3 separate regions of the Homo sapiens genome follow, and all the other regions are linked to region 1. Evidence: promoter capture Hi-C in 16 types of primary human blood cells and fetal thymus (Javierre and others, 2016). All regions are on one chromosome and are shown on one strand. Each heading gives the region's core, a stretch centred on a gene start or on the middle of the fragment in contact. The rest is flanking DNA. Distances are from core to core; before and after follow the strand shown. Region 1 holds the start of MRPL44 (mitochondrial ribosomal protein L44). Region 2 has its middle 110 kb from the start of FAM124B. Region 3 has its middle 130 kb from the start of FAM124B.

Evidence for each region. The method cuts DNA at HindIII sites, captures the fragments that hold promoters and counts their contacts. A CHiCAGO score of 5 or more calls a contact.
Region 2: a fragment that was not itself captured here is called in contact with the fragment with the promoter of MRPL44 in region 1 in 8 of 17 cell types (megakaryocytes, naive B cells, naive CD8 T cells and 5 more); the score reaches 8.4 in megakaryocytes.
Region 3: a fragment that was not itself captured here is called in contact with the fragment with the promoter of MRPL44 in region 1 in 1 of 17 cell types (megakaryocytes); the score reaches 7.3 in megakaryocytes.

The regions. Positions count from the first base shown.
Region 1 is chr2:223,955,627-223,959,877 of GRCh38, reverse strand. It overlaps MRPL44 (mitochondrial ribosomal protein L44), which reads right to left and starts at 2,415. Exons shown (of 4, transcript NM_022915.5): 1 at 2,227-2,415; 2 at 1-344. The coding sequence starts at 2,405. RefSeq lists an enhancer at 2,331-2,500 and a silencer at 2,571-2,640. The HindIII fragment of the contact is 10,687 bases long and covers 306-4,251 here.
Region 2 is chr2:224,286,027-224,290,277 of GRCh38, reverse strand. No RefSeq gene overlaps it. Among named protein-coding and RNA genes, the nearest start is that of FAM124B, 110 kb to the left of the region's middle. The HindIII fragment of the contact is 8,711 bases long and covers 1-4,251 here.
Region 3 is chr2:224,269,058-224,273,308 of GRCh38, reverse strand. No RefSeq gene overlaps it. Among named protein-coding and RNA genes, the nearest start is that of FAM124B, 130 kb to the left of the region's middle. The HindIII fragment of the contact is 8,330 bases long and covers 1-4,251 here.

The DNA of each region.
Region 1 (4,251 bases), core at 1,166-3,665:
CAGCCAAGTTTCTAGCCACGTGACACACGACTTCCTCACCAGTGAGAAAGTCAACAAGATTTTTTATGCCTTCAGTGGGCATGTCTGGGTACTCGTCTTCAAGAAACTGTGTAAGGCAAGTCTGTGAAAAAGATGTCCCTTGTTCGGATAGTTCTTGATTACTTTTAAGATTCAGAAGAACAGCTTCTTTCTCTATCCCAAGTTGTTGGCGTTTGGCCTCCTCACTTTTAATATAGCAGCTATTAACAAATGCAGTTTTGAGAAGATCTAAGGAAAAGTTTTCCTGTAACCGATGTCCAAAAGCTTGTATTTCTGCATGGTAATCCCAGTTCGGCTTCTCTGAACTGAAAATGTAAAGACAGTAAGAGATGGTAAAGAGAACAACCTGTTACTGTGATATAAAAATTGTTCACTGTGTTGTAATGTTATTAATTATATAAAGGAAATGAAAGAAGGTTATATTTCTTTTTAATGCCAGGTTGATATTCTAAATGTTAAGACTAAAGTCAGATAAATACTGGCAGTCCTTTGCTATATTCTACATATATGACTGGATTAATTTTCCCTTTGATCCAATTGTCACATGAAATTGGTTCTTCAATATAAAAGACCAAGCCATTAGCCTAACTTTTAGGTTCCTTATTTCTGCTCTAACCATGATACTATGTTTTATACCTAAGTATGAAGCATAAATGTTAATTTCACAGATTCAAGCCATAAACACTAGTATGTTATATTTGCAGTCATCCCTCAATATCTGTAGGGGATTGGTTCCAAGGACTCTCCTGGATACTGAAATTCATGGATGCTCAAGTCTCTCATATAAATGGTGTAGTACAGGCACACTTCGTTTCACTGTACTTCGGTCTATTGTGCTTCACAGATTTATTGCATTTTATTTTTACAAACTGAAGGTCTGTAGCAATTCTGCATGTGCTCACTTTGTGTCTCTGTGTTACCATTTTTTAGCAATAAAGTATTTTAAATTAAGGTACATATATTGCTTTTTAGACACTACTACTGTACACTTAATAAACTACAGAATAGTATAAACATAACTTAGGTATACACTGGGAAACTAAAAAAGTCATGTGACTCGTTTTATTGTCGTGGTCTAGAACCAACCCTACAATATGTATGAGGTATACCTGTATCTGCATATAACCTATGCACATCCTCCTGTATACTTTAAGTCATCTCTGGATTACTTATACGTAACACAATATAAAACCCCTTTAAGAAACAAAGGGAAGCAAAGTATGAAAACCTAGGTTGAAAGTCGTAAGATATACATATAACATATACACCTATATAATCTGTCCAACCCATAAAGTTTCTTCCACCTTTGAGAGCCTAAAATACTTAATCTTATAATAAACAAGGGAATGGGAATTAAGAAGAGATTTTATTTTTTGCTATAATCTTCTCTGTTAGAAGACCGTTCCTACTGGTAGGAGTACAAAGTGGATCAACATTTTTTGGAGGGCAATGTTAAAGTACTAATAGCTTTCAAAATTTCATACTACACATGCGTCCCCTTTACGCGCTGTTACATAGGTTTTAATGGCAATAATATGGAGCTCATAGGCCCATATATACAGAGCCATAAAAAAGAGTGAGGTACATATCTTTGTAATACCATGACAACATGTCAAACACACATTATTAAAGAGAAAAAGCAAGATGAAGGAATTTAAATTATGTAAAGTATGATCTGGTTTGAAGCTATAAAAACCTGTGTCTCTCTCTGCCAAACCTGTTACCAGAACAGCATTAATTAGGGCAAAAATCTAAAGCTAACTTTTTTTCCTTTTACTCTAGACAGCAGAATTCAGGTTGTAGATTAATTTTTTTTCTCCTTAATTTACGATGCTGTGGGCTGCTTTCTTCCCGCTTATCGGAATTCTCAGGCATTACAAACGGGGACTACAACATCCAAGTCCACATAAGGAAGACCCTCCAGTTAGCCCCATTTCTCCCAATTTTCAGTAGCCAAAATCCTAAATGGTAGTTTCAAAACGTCGGGAACAGCCCGAAGCTCTACCGCCCGCGGCACAAATCCATTTTTTTTGCCTCAGGCCCCGCGCCCACAGCTCACGGGTGTCTCCATCGCAAACTTCCTAAGGCTTAACCCAGGGGCGCATCAGCCGCAGACACGACGCCGCGGGAAGAAGACCCAGTGTCTGCGACCGCCACCCTGAGACCTCTTCCCGAGGTGGCTCCTACCGGCGCACGGGCGGCGGCGGGCACCGCAGAAGGCGCTGCCGCTCTAACTCCTTCTGGAAGCGGAAGGCGGCGCGGAATCCCTTCTTCACTCCCCGAACCGGAGGGACCAGCTTGGGGGCGACTGGAGCCAGGAGGCAGCGATGTCCCTGCTGCAGCAATCTTACCAGCCCGGACGCCATTGCACGAGAGAAAACGATGGAAGACGGAACGAAAGTAGTCGGGCCAGTGTCCCCGTAACACACTTCCCCCGGAACCCGGAACGCGGAACGCGAAGAGAAGGCTGGGGCGGAGACAGCCCCCGGGGCGGGGCGACTGAGAGAGGGCAGGGGCGGAGACAGCCCCGGGGCGGGGTGATTGCGGCCGCCTTGAGGCTACGCTTGCGCTAGTTCTCTCCTCTCTTCGAGTTACTTTCCAATGATCCGGACTTGAGGGCGTTTGCGCCCAAAAGTTTCTGGGAGAAGTTGCTTCACCCTGTCACTCTCTTGTTCCTTCCTCTCTCGTTACAGCAAAACAAACAAAAATCTGTTTCGCTTTCAGGTTAAGGAAACATTTAAATCCTCAAAAAAAGAAAACATTTTTAATTTATATTTAGTGTTCTAGGCCACTACTGAGCAAGTATTTACCGAGCTTCTATTTTTGACCCAGCACGCCTCCAAAAGCCTTAGTTTTGGAAACCCTAGACTCAGAAATGTTGGCTTATCCAAAATTAAAATTTTTCTTTAAAAGCAATCTAATAGTACATATTTTTAAACATCCGGAAAATGACTGGAAAAAAACATAAAACGGTAATAGGGGAATTACAGTTTCTTCCTTCTTTATGTTAACACTCTTTAACAATGTAATTCTATTGCTTTCCTACCAAACTGTTAATACAGTACAATTTTTAAAAGAACATATTAAGTCACAAAGGGAGGCTTGTTTGAATTCCCAGTTTTGAGTTGCCTGCTGAACATCTAGACCCTCAAAGGGGCAATGCTTTCTGTGATCTCTTTGTTAAAGGCATCTGTGTCCCCAGCAGTCACCCAGATTGAACTCCTATGTCTTTGATTGTTTTTGTTTCGACAAACCCCCTCTTCGGTGCAGTTTCCACCAAGTGCTTTTTCCATTTATTTCCACTGCAGGTACCTGGTGGCTCTCCTCACCTCTTTCCGTGGTTAGTGTAATTGGCCTGGTACCTTCCTCCCTTCCCCAGACACAGCTCACCTACATTCATCTCTCTGAAACACAGACCACAAAGCATGTTATGACTTAGCCCGAGAATCTTCAGTGCCAGGATCATAGAACTCAATTTGGGTTTCTCAGCTTGACCATTTCAAAAGGGAGAATCTAAATGGTTCATCTCAGCTTATAAAAGGGTTCCCTTTGGGGAGGGAGAGAGCAAAAGAGGGGCTGAGCACACACCAAAAAACAAACTGATGGATTTCTGGTTGAAGGAAATTCTCCAAGAAGGGGTGAAAGGAGGTTACGATTGACCTTCTTGTTTCAATGTATGTAAAGTATTGAAAATTCATGGAACATCAATCCAATAAATGGATTAGGAGAAAATGCAGGGAACTGTCATTTCTGTAGAATTTCATTTATTAGGAAAAATAATCTAAGCCAGTTGTAGCACAATCATGTTAAGTTAAAATGAGGTGTCTCTGTGTTGAGAGTTTCTCAGTCATACAACAACGAGAGCATCATTTGCAGATTAAAAAAATGTAGGTCCTCAAAAGATTTCTTCTACTAATGCCCTTCATGGAACTTAGGAATTAACCAGTTTTTTAAAATCTGCTCATACATTTGTCTATTTATTCAATAAACACATAATAGGAGGAGGACTTGGTTCCAGGATCCAGGCTCAGAAAACTTTAAGGAAGAAAAAGGCCAATGTGTTTTTCAGCCCTCAAAAACCTGATTTTTCCTTTAACCTGCTGTTAGCCCTAATTTGATCAAAGCTCACAGATGTCAACAACTTTCGAGTTTTCATTGGGTTAAGGTCAGGTGGAAGGGTGGGGAAAAGTCACACTTAGGAAGAGGAGGTGA
Region 2 (4,251 bases), core at 929-3,428, 330 kb before region 1:
AACTGGAAGAAGCAAACACACTCATCTCTGGAACAAAGTATCTGTATCCTTGACTTTAAATTATTTCTACAAATTATTTTTAAAGTAAATGACCACTACACAATTAAAAATAGCAACTCATGCAAAGTCAAGACCTTGTGAGTGAAAACCACCAAAAAACCAAAGAGAAACAGAGCCACAAAGATTTCATAGGTTGGAATTATCAACACAAATTATGTATCAGTTATGATTACCATGTTTAAAAACATAAAACACATCTAGGGCTGGGAGCAGTGGCTCACGCTTGTAATCCCAACACTTTGGGAGGCCGAGGTGGGCAGATCACGAGGTCAGGAGATCGAGACCATCCTGGCCAACATGGTAAAACCCCATCTGTACTAAACATACAAAATTTAGCTGGGCATGGTGGCACGTGCCTGTAGTCCTAGCTACTCGGGAGGCTGAGGCAGGAGAATTGCTTGAACCTGGGAGGTGAAGGTTGCAGTGAGCCGAGATCGCCACTGCACTCCAGCCTAGTGATAGAGCAAGACTCTGTCCCCCACCCCCAAAAAAAAGAAAGAAAAAAAAAACACATCTAAAATACCTGTGACTAGAATAGAAAAGTAAAAATAAAAAGTGACAGCAGATTTGAATGAGAAACATAATTTTAGAAATAAGATAAATGTAACAAGCAAAATTATAATCCCCGTAGAAATAATCCACAATACAACTTGGAGGAAAATAAAAGGAAAATCAATTCTAATGAGAGATTAAAGATATATGTTTCATATTTTTCTTGAGTTTCAGAAGGAGATATAAGAGAATGAGCTCCACACCTAGACATATCATAAACGTCTCTTCAGAAAATCAAAGAAAAAGAGAAAAAGGATAATCTTCAAAGGGCCAATATTTAGAGAGTCATAGCTAACTTCCCAACATCAACAATGAAAATCAAAAAAATGTTATCTTGTATATATTTTTGAATGAAGTCATTTTAAACAAATGAAAGAGTTTTTCTATAAGTGGACCCTCATTAAAAAATTACAGGCTGGGCACAGTGGCTCACACCTGTAATTCCAACACTTTGGCAGACTGAGGTGGGAGGATCCCTTGAGCTCAAGAGACCAGCCTGAGTAACATAGTGAGAACCGTCTCTATTAAAAAGAAAAGTAACAGATGGTTTATTTCAATCAGGATAAAACTGATTCTACATGGAAGAGTTGAGATGTAATAATAAACAAAGAATTAAAAAGCAAACTAAAATAATTGTGGAATGTAATAATAATAATAGTAATGAATTATAATACACCCCATAATAATATATAAGTTGGAAGGGGATAAGTTGAATTGAAAAGTTTTCTTCAAGGTCCTTATATTTTGCAGAAAATAAAGGTGCTAACTGTAGACATTGATACGTTAATACACAAGTTGTAACTTTGGGTAATAATTAAACGAATAAAAGAACAACGTATAATTTCTAAATTACCAGAGAAAAACAACAGAATGATTAAAAAATTGATTTATTCAAAAGAAGTCAAGAAAGAAAAGGATAAAAATAGGTAAGATAAAATGCATTGGTTACATATTGCTACATAACGAATTATCCCCAATCTAGCAGCTGAAAACTACAGGCTGGATACGAAAGTGGAAATATCTAGAATTTGTTTACAAAATAGATATGTGAATGAACATGAATAAGTACTAATACATTAGTTTTAGTTAAAATGAAGATGTGTGTGCTTGTGAAAGACTGTATTATTCTCCATTCCCCTAATTAGCATATGTCATGAGCTGTCAATAAATATCCTCAAAACTAAGATTCTCATGACTGCATGACTGCATTGTAAAGTATGTTGCATCAAATGAACATAATTTATATAATTGTTCTTTTATTATTGAACATACAGATATTTATCTGCTCTTCACAATAGTGAACATAAACATTCATGAACATGAAATTTTGGTGAATTTTTAGCATATATTTCATGTTGGTTGTGAGCAACAGAGAACCAAAATAACAACAGTGGCATAATGACAGGTGCTTTTTATTTCTTTGTAACACGAAATTCTACATTTAAACATCCCATAGAACCATGAGTGGCACTGCATCTCCTTGGTCATCTGGGACCCAAGCCACTTCCAGTTTTCTCATCTAACACTAATGGAGTGAGGATCTCATCTTTGCGATCCAAGATGTAGCCTCACCATCCATTTACATTCCAAGTGGCACAAAACAGGAGAAAAGACTTACTGCAGCTGCCTTTTAATGACATTTCTCGGGAGCTTATACATAATACTTTCAGTTATATCCCATTGGCTAGAATTTAGTCAGTTTCTGTCTAACTGTAAGGATGGCTGGGATATGTAATGTTTATTCTGGGCAGCCACATGCCCAGCTAAAATTCAGAATTTAATTACCTAAAAATTAAAGAGACAATGGATATTAGGGGAAAATTAGCAAGTTCAGCTATGGGTTCTCAGCAGTGGAATTCCTGAGCCAAGCTATAATTTTGCTGTTTGAAGCCCTTGTTATATATGAGGACACACTGGTGCCAGAACGTCTCTACTGCTTAATCCTCCTTAAGCTGTGCATGAGAGAGTCTGCACACTTGTCACGTCCTTGCCAACACCCAATACTATCATCCAAAATAAGTCTCTGCCAGTTTGATAGGAGGGAAAAATATCCTGTTTATATTTGCATTACTTTGACAATAAAAAGAGCTAAACTTTTCCATGTATTTGCTGGTCATTCATATTTCTTTTTGTGAATATCCTATGTCCTTTGTCTACCATTAAATTAATATTTAGCTAGCTATAGTATTATATGGTTTGAGTGTGTCAGGAGGAAATTTTTCTTTGCAGTAATTAGGATTTTATAAAATCCTACTTTTATAGGAAACCTTTTTATGGAATAAACAACTGTTGAAAAGTAACTAGCAAATTTTTATGTAGTTTTCTTATGACTGAGAAAACTCAGACTCAAATATGGCTTTGTCTGATGTCACAGGCAAACCAGGAAGACGGGAAAATAACATCAAGTACAATCAACTATGAGTTTTCTTAATTCTTTGGAAAGAGTTAAATCACTGACATTTTAGCCCTTTCAAAAACAGGCTCTTCTCTCAGTCGGGTTGATCATTTGATGGTTGTGGTTCAGTTCAGTGTATGAGAAAAGTCATCCTGTGGGTAGGGACAGGCACTTGAATTGCCTTCCCAGTGGTGACAAAAGGAAATGCCATCATCCAAATGAGACTGCAAAAATGCTAGTGATTATTGCTAGCTCCTGCATTCAGTTTCCCTGTCATCCAGATTATCCTAATGAAATTTTCAAGTTGAACCTGGTATAAACATACTTTTAAAATACACATTTTTATTGGATAGTCAAGCTGATTGCACTGTTTTCATAAACAGAGTTTGTTTATGCTTTACTTCGGGCGATCTGAGCATGCCCGCCTTTACTGCCTCAGCACAGGTAGCCTTGGCAGATGCTGTCCCCTTCCAAGTGGCAATAGCGAGGATGTGGAGCTCACCACCATATGTGGGTCATGTTGGTGGTTCTTATGCAGGATCCCTTGCAGAGTGGTTGAGGATAAAAATTCCCACCTATTTCCTGCAGCCTTGGACAGCAATCATCACTCCATACAAAAGTTGACATGTATGTTGAGTGTATATGTAATCTAAAAAAAGTTTCTGTAAGTGAGTAAATTATCTTAACAAGTGGACCTATAACACACAGTTCACCCTACTTGAGCTGGGTTTATGGATCCCTGCTCGCCCGCACCACCATGATACCATTTCATAAGGGAATCCTAAAATGCCCCCCGTTAGTAGCTGTTATCCATATCTGCAGATACTTTGTTAGTAATAGCTCCTTAATGGGTAGAAATGGTAGGGTAAGTCTTAGCTGTTGATTTGATAGTGAAATTAATCCTTGAGTTAGCTATTTTCAAAGAAATGAGGAAAAGCCCTTGTTTTTAAGGAATAACATTTCCTGTTTCAAATTTGCCTTTCAATTCTCCTTCCTGCTATTTGAGTGGATGATAAATCATTTATAATTAATGTCCTTAGGATTTTTCCATGTGGATAAATACTGGTGATTGGCAATTTGGGCCTCTGCATACATGCTCCTGTTAAAATGAGTAAGAGATAAAACTACTACTCAATTAAGTTTTCCTTGTCTAAAAAAACACAAACAAACAAACCAAACCACACACATGAGAAAACAACCACAAAAATCCAGAGACACATTCTGGGTAAAATTTGTTTTAATAT
Region 3 (4,251 bases), core at 1,160-3,659, 310 kb before region 1:
TATTACAAAGCAATCTGAAAGGCCAACATCTCTCTATTGTTTCTCATCCCATATGTATTTGAAGAACTTTGTACTTGTCTTTGTTTGTGGCTTGCAATTTGCATCTAATTTCTGGCGTTTATTTTTTTCATTTTAGCACAATTACCTGCTATCTCATTGTGTTCTCTTGGGTAAGCTGACCAAGTTTTTTCTTATAATTTTAATTTGTATTTAGAATGTTTACATAATTAATTTGGCTTCTTCCCACTCCTTCTTCACTTTTTCATATAGGATAGCTTCCCATCTCCCACCTCTAACTCTTGGGATCTTTTTATTGTTCTTTTGAGAAACACTGAGCTTCACTAGATGAGTTTTCTGTTAAAAGTCTAGTCCAAAGAGATTTTGCTATTTTACTAAGCCTATTAATTTTGGCATTTGCTTTGTTATTAATTTTTTTCTAACTTCATTTCCCCCATAGTTTTCTTAAGTATTCTAAATTCCACACTAAGACCTTCCTGTTTTTCCACTGAGTTTTAACCTTCTTTGAGGAAATGTAGCAAAGTTCTTAAAATGCATTCTTGAAATCCCTGAGACTGCGAAAACTTCTGCATGAGCATTCCCAGACACAATTTCCAGGGGAAAGGATGATATCTCTCATCAGAGTTCAAGTTTATGAAGCATGAATCTTTCAGAGCTGAGGTCCTCTCACCGCAATCCCGCTGGTAATTGATGAACTGATCTTCAGCTTCTCGCATAAAGGGTGAGGGCCAGGGTTTTTGTCATGATTGTGTCTTGGACTTTGGCCCTGTTCTCTATATAGGGAGGGTTTCAAAAGAAGAGGGCTCAGACTGTCAACAAACTTATCTTCTGTCCTGGGTCAGTGACTTCAGAGGGTCAACTTCTCAGTATGACACGGTCTTTGAAGACTTCTGTGACCCTGCTACTTTGTGGCACCCTCTCCAGATGCAGCACTGCCCACCCCCTGCCCAGCCGTGATTTATCTGCAAAGGTAGAACCCTCTCCTTTTCCACACATGCCTATTTAGGAGATTAGTGACTCATCATGTATGTTGTCTTTCTCTTTCCTGTATTCCTGGAGAGTTCTGGGTCTCCCTTTACTTCTTAGACTTGAATACATGTGTATGGGAGCTGGATGTACAAAAACCACATCAGGCAGCAAGCTCCTATCTTCTTTATGTCCTTATTGATGTTACTGTGCTCTGGTTATGCTCTGCCCAAGTATAACCATGTTCAGTCCCTGCTGCATGTTTTCCAGGCTGCTGGCACCTAGGCTCCTCTCTCCCTCACAATTCACCTGCAGTGCTAAGCAGGGCATTCTTTGCCCCAGCCATCACTAGCAGAACAGAGGAACACAGGGATCAGGTTGAAGCTGAGAGGAAGGACTCCCACAGAAGACTCTGTGCCATAGGAGTAACCAAGTTAAGGTTCAGACACAACAGACTACTTGTAAACACCACATTCTCTACATTAGAGGTGAGATGGAGGCCAATGCTGTAAACCCAAGGGTTCTGAGGCTGCCAAAAAAAGCGGGGGGGTTAAAGAATTTGGAACAGGATATAGTGATTTAGCTGGATTGAGATGTACAGCTACAGTTAGGCTGGATTAAAATGCAAGAGGTAAAGAAACAAAAGAAAATAATACCTGGGATTCTTCCCTATAATCTAAGACTTCCTCAGCATCATTACTGCAGGGTTAGTGATCTGCTAATAGACACTGTGTATGTGCTTGTTTGTGTAGTGATAGAAGAATGAGGTGGACACATGCTGATTGTTGACCAGTATGATTGGGAAGGGCATCAAATATCACTTTGGTCTTTATTGACTAAATATTTTGGAAATATACGTATTCCTTAGAGAATGAGTCTCCTGCAATTTCAATCTTCCAGTAGTAATCATTGTTAACAGTGTGATGTCTATTCTTCCTATTCATATATTAAAATAAATGCACATGTACCCACACATAGATATTTCATACACCAATGGGATCATCCATAATCCTGTTCTGTAGCTTGGTTATTCTGCTACCAATGTATTTTAAGTACCACCATTTAAAAAATGAATTTGGAAACAAAATATATGAATATTTCCTGAAAATTTTCCTGAAGAGCATCAGATTTGATTACATCTCTAAAGAAGCACCAGGGAGAAGTTTAAAAGATACTAATGATTAAGTCTGGAACACTTCTTAGAATCAATGATTACATTTCATAAACTCATTTTTTTTAAGTGAAAATCATGCTGGTACAGAATTAGATAATCTCAATGTGAAAATTGCAGCAGTCACCAGCTGACAACCAATGAAACACAGATGTAACTTTGGAGTGTGTTAGCTATTTAACAGGTTCAAATCAGATCAGAAATTATGAGAGTCAGATTAATAACTGAAATTCTAACATGTTCCACGGTGCATGCTTAACATTTTGCTCTCTTTGCCCTTGACATCCATTTTTAAAAACTGGCTGTGATTATTAAAGTATCACATTCTGAACTATAGTGTTAAGTTAACAAGCGATTACACCAGGGCCATCAAGGTCAAAGGTTGAAACCACATAAATAGTAGAAATTAATGAACTAAGACCTCTAGCTTCTAGGTTCCAGCCAACCTTTCTTTTTGATAAAACACTTTCTATTTTGAGAGAATTACAGACTCACAAGAAATTGCAAAAATATTACCAGGAGACACTGCGTACCCATCCCCCAGCTTCCTCCAGTTGTAACTAACATCTTACTTAACAACAGTACGTTATTAAGCCTAGGAAATTGACATTAGAACAGTACAATTAACTAGACTACAGATATTACTTGGATGTCACCAGATTTTGAATACACTCTTTTTTTTTACATGCTCTGTGCATAGTTGTATGATTTTACCCCACGTATAGATTTGTGTAACACCAGAGCTAACAAGACACGGAACTGCTCCGTTACCATGAGGGAGTTCCTTAGCACTACTCTTTTATGCTCAGATCCTTCTCTCCCTCTCTAAGTCCTGGCAACCACTGATCTATTCTCCATTTCTATAATTTTGTCATCTCTGTATTTTTGGCTTTATGACATTCTTTACTACCTCACAATCAATATTTCTGGTGCAGATCTTCTCTGAAATGTCCATCTGGTCCCATTCAGTCTTCCATATTTTGAGGCCTGGAGTTCCTTGATTCAATCAGCCATAAAGGTCACAGATGATCAGTGGTTGATACTGCAGTGAAGAAAGCAAGATCCGTAGAATCTAACGCCAGTGACAATGAGAACTGGACTCAGCCTAATTTCACCAATGTATTTCTGGGGCTATTGTAACAAAGTACTGCACGCTGGGTGGCTTAAACAACAGAAATGTATTGTCTGATGGTTTGGGGGCTGGAAGTCTGAGGTCAGGCTGTTGGCAGGGCCATGCTTTCCCTGAAAGTACCAGGGAAGGATCGGTCTTATGTGTCCCTCTTACCTTCTGGTAGTCTCCTGACTCATGGCAGCACAACCTGTCTTCATAGGATGTTCTGCCGTGTGCATGTCTTTACATCATGCTCTGTCAATACATCTCTCTCTCTGCCTCTCTGTGTCCACATTTTCTCTCTTATAGGGACACCAGTCATATCGGATTAGGGCCCACTCTAATAACCTTATTTTAACTTGATTACCTCTGTAAAGATCCTATCTCCAAATAAGGTCACACTTTAAGGTACTAAGGGCTAGAACTCCAGTATACTATATTTTTTGGGAGGACACAATTTAACCCTGTGAAGAAGTTCCCTGAAAAGAGATTTAGAAAAAAGAGGTTTTATTCCAGTGAAAAGTTGCAAACTGCAGAGATGTAGCTTCAGTATTAACTGGAAGTGCATTCCAGATAATAAGAAAAGGGTTTATTTTTTATAGAGAGTGTGCCCACCTAGGTTCCCTCTCAGGTCCTCTTATGTGAATGAAGGATTCAAACTTGCTTAGTTTTGATTGCTTGATCTTTGATGAGTTCTGATTGGTTATTTAGGTCACAGCCTATTAGGTGGTTTAGGTGGCATAAATAGGAACAGTGAAAGTCCCAAAGTTAAGCTGACCTGCAGGTTTTCCAAAAACTCAGGGCGTATCTGTGACCTTTAGTTAACAAATGGCCTAAACTGAACTATTGGAAACTACTGTCTACATGGTGAAATCCAAGAAAGATGGCCAGGCGCGGTGGCTCAGGCCTGTAACCCCAGCACTTTGGGAGGTCGAGGTGGGTGGATCACCTGAGGTCAGGAGTTTGAGACCAGCCTGGCCAACAT